2 separate regions of the Homo sapiens genome follow, and region 1 is linked to region 2. The links are contacts of gene promoters, found by promoter capture Hi-C in blood cells and fetal thymus (Javierre and others, 2016). All regions are on one chromosome and are shown on one strand. Each heading gives the region's core, a stretch centred on a gene start or on the middle of the fragment in contact. The rest is flanking DNA. Distances are from core to core; before and after follow the strand shown.

The links. The method cuts DNA at HindIII sites, captures the fragments that hold promoters and counts their contacts. A CHiCAGO score of 5 or more calls a contact.
Region 1: a contact is called between a fragment that was not itself captured here and the fragment with the promoter of SLC9B1 in region 2, in 1 of 17 cell types (non-activated CD4 T cells). The highest score is 7.3, in non-activated CD4 T cells.

Annotation. Positions count from the first base shown.
Region 1 is chr4:99,964,090-99,969,133 of GRCh38, forward strand. All of the region lies in intron 1 of H2AZ1-DT (H2AZ1 divergent transcript), which reads left to right. Among named protein-coding and RNA genes, the nearest start is that of H2AZ1-DT, 16 kb to the left of the region's middle. The HindIII fragment of the contact is 2,031 bases long and covers 1,783-3,813 here.
Region 2 is chr4:103,016,779-103,022,411 of GRCh38, forward strand. SLC9B1 (solute carrier family 9 member B1) reads right to left here and starts at 2,927. Exons shown (of 12, transcript NM_139173.4): 1 at 2,821-2,927. SLC9B2 (solute carrier family 9 member B2) reads right to left here. Exons shown (of 12, transcript NM_178833.7): 12 at 5,475-5,633. RefSeq lists an enhancer at 2,768-3,268. The HindIII fragment of the contact is 6,332 bases long and covers 1-3,562 here.

The DNA of each region.
Region 1 (5,044 bases), core at 1,548-4,047, 3.1 Mb before region 2:
ATAAAATGTTGCATAAATGGTCATATTTACAAAACAACAATAGTGGATGAATAAATGAAAAATTAATAAAAATTATTACAGTGAATGGAAGGGGAGAGAAGACAGAGAACAAGTTTGAAGACTCTTTCACTGGCCAAAATGGAATACATTGAGCATCAAAAATAATAATGAACACAAGTTTGAGTCAAGCCTATTGAATTTTTAAAAAGTAATGAGTTCAAATTGAAGAGAAGAGAGTTCAGAGAGAAGACAGAGGAGGAGAAAGAAAAAGGTAGAAAGAGAGGAGGAGAGAGAAAAAAAAATTTGCTGGATGCTGTTGGAAGTGTCCACAGCACCAACTCATTACTCATATCTCAAGACTGATAATTAAAGGTGAAGAAGTAGGCCAGGCAAAGTGGCTCCCGCCTTAGGGAGGCTGTAGAGGAGGATTGCTTGAGGCCAAGAGTTAGAGATCAGCCTGGGCAACACAGTGAGATCTCTTCTCTAAAAAAGAAAAATTAGCTGGGCACAGTGGCACTTGCCCATGGTCCCAGCTGTTCTGGAGGCTGAGGTGGCAGGAGGATTGCTTGAGCCAAAGAGGTTGAGGCTGCAGTGAGCCATGTGACAGAGTGAGATCTTGTCTCAAATAAATAGATACAAATAAAGGTGAAAAAATAAGCATTTATCCTGTCTGTATGCTATGAATTATGTTTCAGTTTATACTGAACTAACTGATGAGAAAAATTTCTCTGAACAAAAGAATCTCAGCTAATAAATGCAGAAGAACTAATAGAATTTTTTTTAAATCTCAATTTTTAAACCTTCACATGAATCATTTAAAGGTCATTAATCTGCTGTAAAATCATTAGATGAAAGTTTAGGAAATTTACAATGAAGGAATATGGCTGTTACCCCCCACCATCAATCTTAGTATTGTAAAACTAAAACAACCAGATGAACCAAATGCCTTTTGATGTAATCAACATGAAAATGAACTACACAACCCCACCTATGAAGTATTCTTAAAAAAAAAAACTGAACCCATATCTGTTCAAGTCTTCAGGACTAATTTCTTGGCACTGAAAATAAAAAGCCACCAAGCAGACAATGCAAAGAAGCATTAGCCATATCCACAATGTGTAAAATTGACCTGTTTTTTTTCAATAAGGCAATAGAATTCAGGGAAGGAGAAAAAAGAGGAGAAAACTGTTCTAAATTAAGAGATATTTAAAAAGAATTGTGAGATAGAACAACCCAGTAAAATGTGTGAACCTTGGTTGGAAGCTGATGTCATTAAACCTCTAATTAGTGGTAGTGGTTGTTTTTTTAAGGTTTTACATAATTGGGGAAATTTGAATACAGATTTAGAACTAGGTAATATGAAGGAATTATTGTTAATGCTGTTAGAGAAAACAATGGCATTTGTTTATGTAAGAAAATGTCCTTTGTTTTATTATTTTTAAAGAAAGCACATTAAAATATTTAAGGTTAATATAAAATGATTTCTGAAATTTGCTTTAAAATGCTCCAAAAATTTTTTTAATGCAGGAGGCATAAACAATATGGCAAAATATTTATAATTATTGAAATTAAGTACTTATTTGAAATTTTCAGTAGAGTTCAAAAAGAAAAAATTGGTAATGAAATTGCTGCAGATGCTGTCTCTGTGTAGGAAGAAAAAAATGGTAAACTTTGCTTTGTGGTCATCAGTTTGCCGTTGTTTGGGACCTTTTCATATCATAGTTTTTACCCTTAAATTAAAAAAAAAAAAAACCAACCCCAATATCCTGTTTAAACAAACCAAGCTTCGCTTCTTAGCCACTCTGGTTTCACCACATAAACGATACTTTATTGTTTGAAGTTGTGCTGAGCTGTCTTTAACAGCTAAGTTTATCTACATATATAAATATTCTGACTGTAAATTTTGTTTTGTTGGGCTATACTAAAATAACATGCAGAGAACTTGAACATGAAACACAAACGGTAAGAGGCAAAGATGCAGCAGTGGAAAAAAAGAGGAAAATTGAATTCAGAACAAACTGGATTTGACATTTATGCTTCCCAGCTAAGAGACGTTGGTCTAATCAACCTATGTGAGCATTCCACTTCTCTTGGGCAGAATGGGACTATTGTGAAGACTGCATGAGCTAAGTCATGTGCTTTTTTAACTGTAATGCATCATACCAAGATAAAATATTATTAGCATGAAGAATGAATGCTGGCAATATTTCATGACTATTTTCATTTTACAAAAGTGAAAAATTATTTACACTGATTTTTAAAAAGAATTAAAAATAATTTACAAAATTTATCCTAATAAACAGCAATAAGAAACACATTTGGTCTGCCTTTACATATTTCCATCGGTAGGAGAATCAGATCTGCTCAACAAGGATAGAGTTCCACTTTGGTTTTTGACTTTGTTCCTGCTAAGGATCATTTTACTACAGTGATATTAGGTCTTACTTAGAAAAACTATTATTCTGTCTCTTCAGGTGTAGTTAACTACACTGAAAATTTCCATTAAAAAGATACCAGAGTAAAGAAATAATTTTATAATGCAGAAAATCACCCCAGTTTTACTGTTTTATACCCTATCTTTAATATATCAAGTTTGTTTGTTTTAATTTCAGCACCTAATACAATTTCGCCTCTTCAAAAACTTACAGATAAATTGAGAACTATACTCAGAAGCCACAGGCAACATTAACTGTGACTTAGATGGTTCTGAGTAATTTATAATTCAATTTGCAGCCAATATTCAGTGTTGTTATGCACTTGAACTCAGCTTTTCTGGAAATTGTTTAAGGCACGTAAACATCCTGCGTTAATGAAAAGTTGTTCTTACAACATAATTGTGAGTCATGAAGAGAGAACTGAAGAAAACATAACCTTTTTTCCTTATCCTTTCTTTAGAAAAAGAGGCCAAATGAAAGAATATGAATATCTCTTTAAAGTAATTAATGGCTTAAGGGCTACAAAGTACTTTGAAAACAAAAGCAAAAATTTCTCCTAATAAACAGCAACAAGAAACACATTTGGTCTGGCTGTAGTATTTCTGTCAGTGGGAGAATTAGACACACAAGGATAGAGTTCCACATTGTTTTTCATTGTTGTTGTTGTTTGTTTGTTTGTTTTGAGACAGAGTTTCGATCTTCTTGTCCAGGCTGGAGTGCAGTGGCGCGATCTCGGCTCACTGCAACCTCTACCTCTCAGGTTCAAGCTATTCTCCTGCCTCAGCCTCCCAAGGAGCTGGGAATACAGGCATGCACCATCATGCTCGGCTAATATTGTATTTTTAGTAGAGATGGGGCTCTTACCATGTTGGTCAGGCTGGTCTCGAACTCCTGACCTCAAGTAATCCACCTGCCTCAGCATCCCAAAGTGTCGGGATTACAGGTGTTAGCCACTGTGCCTGGCCCACATTGGTTTTTTACTTTGTGCCTGCTAAGGATCATTTCACTACGGTGATGTTAGGTCTTATTTAGATAAAATGTTATTCTGTCTTTTCAGGTGAATGGTAGAGAAAATAGATTATATTCCTGTGGGCACTGCTAGTACTTTCAATACTTTTATAATGGGCTCATCTGTATCTCTTTACTCTCATTTTTTCATTTTTTAATGGTCTCAATCTAGATGATTCTTTTCCCATTTAAAAAGCCATTATTTATTAATTGATTGATTCTTGAAAAGGCTAAACTTGTCAATGTTTCAACATTTAAAAGGCTAAAAAAAGTGGTATAGAGTGAAAATTCTCTCTCCCACTCCTATCCTTCAGTTGCTCAGCAATGTGTTTTCTCCATAGTTTCCCTGATCACCTGCTTTTGTTTACAAAGCTTTTGTTGCTTCCTCTATCTGAAATGTGCTTCAGATAGCTGTCAATTTTTGCACTTTACTTCTTCAAAATATGGCTCAATACTCTCCTTTAGTGAACATTCCCTGAGCCACCATCTCCAAAATTGATCTCTTATTCCCCTTGATTCTGCATCATTGAATATGGTTTGTACCCTGCTTTCTTTAATATACTTTAAATTGCTAATGCTCCTAAATTACTTTCATATTTTCTGGAATGATTTTAGATTTTTGAATAGCCTACAGATTTACAGTGCCTTGAAAGCAAGAAATGACTTTTATTTTATTTTTCCTACGTAGCAGTCTGGATCTATGCAACTAGTTGGTGCCTAGTATCTTCTGTATCCTCAAAAATTATTAACTGGCATTTCTCAAAATTTGGTGCATATCAGAATCCTGGGGCCGAGAATGGAGGGGAGGTGGAAAGTGGGGAGCTTTTGAAACTCGTGAATGGTAGGATTCACCCCATACCAATTAAATCAGAGTCTCTTGGGAGTGAGATTTGAGCATAAACAGTATTTAAAACCTGCTGGATGACTTCAATGCACAGCTATGTTTTAAGAATCAGTGATCTAACCCACTCCCTGCCCTCAATTTCAGTGATGACCTCATTCCATGAGAATCTGCTCTTCCTACCAGTGTTATACAATTCTCCCTGCATCTGCACCCATCTTCTGCTTTTCCCCCACTACAGCTAAGAAAGAGTTCCTCTGCTTCCCATAGGCCTCCTTCCAGCTGCCACATTGTCTTTGCTCCCTTTCACAGAAACCTTTTCATGGGATTTTTCTTTGCAGGTGGTTGTCACTTTTTCACCTCCAAATCTCTCTTCAACCACTTATATTTGACTTTCATTCCCATCAGGCCTCCCAAATGGTTCTTGTCACTGTTAATTGCCATGTTGCCAAACCCAAGGGTCAGTTTTCTTCCTTCTTTTTACCTCTCAGCAGCATGACCACACTTTCCACCAGATACTGCCATTTCTTGACTTCCAGGATACCATATGGTTGCTTCTCTTCTCCTTTTATTGCTTTCTTTCATTTATTTTCTCTTCACTACCTGACTTCAAGATGGCACTTTCCCAGGGCTTGGTCCTAAGCCCTCCTCTTTCTCCACATATTTCCATGTACAACTTTTAAGTAGAGATGATTTCAGATAGTAGATGACTGAAAATTTTTTACCTTTATAGTTAAGTACAGTTGTCTCTGGTTATCTC
Region 2 (5,633 bases), core at 1,677-4,176:
ACTCTTCAGATTTTCTTCCTACTTCATTGGCTATTCTTCCATCTCTTTTGTTGGCTTCTTTTCCTCTGCTTTACACTAGTCACTGCAATGTTATCGGTGAGCACACTTGCCCTAGGTAGTTTTCCATATGCTGGTGACTCCCAACTTTGCATCTTTGGTTCCTTGCACTCTGCACAGAGCTGAAGCCTCAAATTACCTTTGATTTCTAATAAGAATGTAAAAATTAAGGTAAGCAAAATAAAACTCCCCCCTCCCACCGCCCTGGCTGCTCCTTTTTCTTCCTTAGTCTTTTCCATTTGGTAAATGGCACAATCATCCACACAAGCTCAAGACAAAAATTTAGGGGCTAGAGGTGACTCCTTTTTCATCACCTCTATATTCAAAACATCACAAAATCTGTAGGCTCTGCCCCCAAAATAGAGCTCACATACATCTACTTCTCTGCTATTTTATCCCAAACTTGTCATTCCTCTTTGGATTTCTGCAATTATCTTCTGCTATAGATCTTGCTCCCCACCCAGTATGATTCAGTCATCACATAATAGGCAGAACAAACCTTTTTACAATGTAAATCAGATCCTATCACTCCCTCCAACTCACTACTGGTTTCTCTTTACACTTTAAATAAATTCCAAACTTATTCCATGGGTAGATTTCCATGGCCTATTCAAAGCCTTACATGATTTGGCCCCTACCTATCCCTCCAAGCTCATCCTGTACCACTTTCTCTACATTTTAGCTTCAGTGGTCTTGATGATGTTCCTGGAAGGAGCCAAGTTCTTTCCTTCCTTAGGGCTCTTGCAATTGGAGTTGCCTTTACCTGTAGTGCGCTGATCCCAAATATTTCCATGGTTGGTTTTTAAAAATATCACTAAGCAATCAATCTAAACTAACCCCTCCCCCAGTCTTAAGGAAGACCTTTACAGTTTTACTTCTTCACTGTGCTTACTATTATCCAAAATTCCTTGCTCATATAGTTTACCTATTTTCTATCTTACACTCACTAGAATTTAAACTTCATAAGAACAGCGATCTTGCTAGTCTTTCTTACCATTGTATTCACAATGCCTAAAACAACGCCTGACAAAGTAGGATATTCTTTAAAAAATACTTAATGAATGCCTTTCCCTAAGCAAGTCACTTGACTTCTCTACTTAACTCACACTGGTGAGTTTACTACTGCTAGACTAAGCTCTGGATCCAGGAAAAACAAAAGTGGCTAAGGTATGGCTTCTTCAGAAGCTCATCCATTCATTCCCTCAAAAAATATTTATTGAACATATATTACACTATGTTCCAGGTACTATTCAATCTCAGTGTTTAGTAAACACCACAGTAACATGGGATTTGGTTAACCAACAGAAGTGTTTAAACAGGATGAGTACAAAAATAAGTACAAAATGAGAAGTACTATAAAAACGATACTTTATATGTTACAACTATAGCACCCACCTATTTCCTTGTGTCTAGTAATTGGCAGGACCTTATGACAAGAGCCAACTGAAAAACAGCAGTATAAATTCTGGTACTCTAAAAGCCCAGACTTCACCACTGTGCAATATATCCACACAACAAAACTGAACTTGTACTAACTAAATCTGTATAGAATTTTAAAAAGTAAGTTAAAAAAAATTCTGGTACTCACAGGGGACAATACCTATGAATGCCCTTTTCATAGGCACACAGTGACTAAAATATTTGGGGCATGAATTCTCTAGGGGTGACAATAATAAGTGTCATTTTTCATGCTTCTGTTGCACACATAATTATATTTATCTCTAAGGAAAATCAGAGAGTGGGGTGTGGCCTCCCTCAGTGCCACCTGGGCCAGTTGTCTCCCCACATCACCAAATCTGTTATTTCACAGGCTCTAGGACACCCATAGAGGGGGAGTGAGGGACCTGGTATGGTCCCGTGAAGAGCTCTTGTAACACTACTGATTGATGTGACAGACACAGTATGTGTGCAACTTTCCTTTTTCCTTCAAAAGCACTGGTCTAAAGCAGGGATCCCCAACCCCTGGGCAGCAGACAGGTACAGGTTTGTGGCCTATTAGGAACAGGCCACACAGCAGGTGAGCAGGGCTAGAGGATTATGCCTGAGCTCCAGCTCCTGTCAGATGAGCAAAGGCATTAGATTCTCATAGGAGCACAGACCTGATTATGAACTGCGCATGTGAGGGATCTAAATTGCGCCTTCTCAAGAGAATCTAATGCCTGATGATCTGAGATAGAAGAGTGTCATCCCATCTTGCCCCCCACCCCAAACTGTCTTCCATGAAACTGATCCCTGGTGCCAAAAAGGTTGGGGACTGCTGGAAGTGCTTGTCCCCTGGGTTAAAGCCAAGAGGAGTAAACAGGATTAAGGGGCGTGGATGTGGGTGGGTGGGGGAAGAGAGCTTTCTCAGGATCGGCAACCAATCCCAGAATCTCCAGTCGCAGGAGCATGTATGTGAAGGTTTATTTGCAGGGATCCACCGTTTGTAAAATAGTACACGCTTAATAAAATTAATTTTGAGGTCAATCTTAACTGACAGATCTCTTCTTTCTTACTGGCGAGTATTTGTAAAATAAGAAAAACAGGAGGAAAAGAGAACAAACAAGAGAGATGTGGGATGACGGAGTAAGGAAAGGAGTCACGGAGAGGAGAGACAATGTCTGTGGCTGTTCCCTCAGCGTCTGGGAGAAGAGCCCAAGAATCCCATTGAACTGAGGGGGAGGAAAGGCCCTCCTGCGGCCTACCGCAAGGAAACGATCGCGGCAGACCCGGGACTAGCGCCAAAGGGCTTGGAAGGGCGGCGTTAAGAAAAATGGGCCGTACCTACAACTTCTTTCGCAGCCCTCGCTGGCCCGGGAGCGGCCCAGGAGCCCAGTGACCGTTGCGTAAGCCACGCGCCACCCAGGTGGGCAGGGTGGTGACGCGAAAGCCCGGATAGACTTCCGCGCAGGGGCGGGGCGGGGCGAGGAGGCGGCAGCGCGTTTAAGTGACGTCTTGGCTGTCCGCGCCGGCAGAGGCGAGGGTTCTGGGGTTTCTGGGACTGTCTGGTGTGTTTTCTGTCTATTGAACCCTTTCCTTTCGACGTCTCTTCTGAATATTGACTCATCGGGTTGTAGAAATCCAGGGACAGAGTTGACATCACTGGGCATTTTAGCCAAAAAGCAGTGCTCGGGACTGCATGTGCCAGAAGTAAACTTGTCAAAACTCAGATTGTGTTTCCCCTAAAGTCAGCTTAAAGTGCAATGGTAGAAGAGCACGGTCTCTCCCCAAGACGGCCTGAGCTTAAACTGCAGCGCTGTCACTTGCTAGCTATGGGACCTAGGCAAATACATCGTCTCCCTGAGGTTGTCTTCTCATCTGTAAAGGACGCTGTGGTGGTGGTGTGAGAATAAATGAGACATGGCAAGTGTCTGGAACAAAGACGCTGTGTACAAAGTAAACACTTAATATACTGTTATCAGTATAAAACCTTTGTGAGTTTTTTTTTTTTTTCCGCATGAAATCTTATGTGGAAAGTTGTATGTGAAAGAAATGAAAGCGGAGCTGCGTTGATGGTGGGCCCAGAAGCTTTGGCCTTTCAGTCCCAAAGTTTCCAGTAATAGAATCCGCGCTTCCTATAAAAGACAAAAACAACTGTTATTGGAGAAAGTGTAAACTTCTTAGAAAGACAAACTGCCCTTTCCTATCTAATGTTTCTCCTGACACTCAATGTTTACTCTTGAACACTGTATTCCTTTTTGCCTCAGTGCGTTCTGTAAAGTTAATTCCTCTACCGGAGTGTTCTTTTTCTTAGTCATCATCTAAGATCTGATCCAAATTACCGTTCCTTCTTGGGTAACTTAAATACGAAATTATCTTTTTATTGGTTTTGTTGACGTTGTTGAGACAGGGTCTCACTCTATTACCCCGGCTGGAGTGCAGTGCGATCTAGGCTCCCTGCAGCCTCCTCCTCCTTGGTTCAAGCGATCCTCCTGCCTCCTGAGTAGCTGGGACTACAGGTGGGCACCACTACCCCCGGCTAATTTTTGTATTTTTAGTAGAGAGGAGTTTCACATATTGCCCAGGAGGACTTGAACTCCTGGACTTAAGTGATCTGCCCGTCTTGGCTTCCCACAGTACTGGGATTACAAGCGTGAGCCACCACAGCCCTGCCCTTTTTATTGTTTTTAACACCTTCCCTCCTTCAACGTGTTATAGACATCTCAGCAAGGATTTATTTTTCTTCCTCGTTTCAGGAGAGTAGACAGGGTTTCATGATTATAGGGTTAAGGAAATGTTTTGTACTCATGAAAAGGAAATGTTTTGTACTCACAGGAAAAGCAGGTAGATCCCTAAAGATAATGGGAGTTGGGACAAATGGTAAACCTGGGAAGGAAGACCTTTGCTAGGAGTCTGTTTGCCTCCAAGGCACTACTCTTATGCTCTAGAAGGAATGGGCTCCTGGAGAGGTAAGTGCTTTAGGGTCCATGTAAGGAAGATGGAGCGCACATCAACAAATGGAGTTTTGGAATTCTCACCAGGCCAGAGGGCTCAGGCTGGATTTGAGTCAGTCAACTATAAATATAATATTACGTACTCCCCAAATGCCATGAAGCAATTCCCACTTGTTACAGAGAGGTACATAAATGATTCATATAAAAATATAATGTTCTGAGACATTAAAAAAATACAGTGGTTCTTTGGGAGACAATATAATGAAAATTTACTAATAAAAAACATTTAAACAATCATCTGATAACCTTTCTTATAAAAATTAAGTTTTAAAAATAAGTAAATTGATTATATTTGCAACAAAGTCATGGAAAGCAAAAGCTTTTGAGGAATAAGGAGAATCTTAACTGAGAGCAATTTTTTAAAACTATACATGACATGATAAAAAAAGTTTTAACACTTTCTACATAGTTTCATACTTCTGAAAGTACTTCAATAAAAATATTTAGCCAATGATCTATTTAGTATGATTTCAGTGCCAACTTTCTTTTCTAGTCTTATCTCTAATTCTCTTCATCAATCTCAAGTGCCAATCACTTTCTATGCTCCAGGCTTTACTGTTTTCAAAACTTTGCTAATATGCCAGCCTCCCACACTAGTTGTTCCCATCTTCACCTTACTCCCTAATATTACCCCATCCATCCAGATCCTCTCCATTCTTGAAGGTCTAGTTCAAGTATCAGTTCCTCTAAGATTTCCTCAACTTCTACACTAAAAACACTTTTGAATTATTCACTTGGATTATAGCTATTTGTACATATCTTATTTCCTTCTAAGGTTCTTAAAGGCAAGTATCATGTCTTATTCATATTTGTATTCCTCACATTGTCAATTTTCCACTAGAATCAAGTTCTATTGAAAACCAAGCCCTTGAATATCTTGTTCATCACTGTATTCCCTAGTATCTAGCACAAGACCTGGCACACAGTAGGCATGTTATAATATATTCTGAGTGAGGGAGTAAATGGATTTTAAAACAAGCTCCATGAAGGCAGGGATTTGTCTGTTTTATTCATTGCAAAATGAATATCTGAATATAAACATGAAGGCTTAGCATTCATTATATACAAAAAAATTCTTCAATCTACATAGCATCATAAAAGCCAAATATGAAATACTTATGTTGCCTTTCACCCAACAAATTC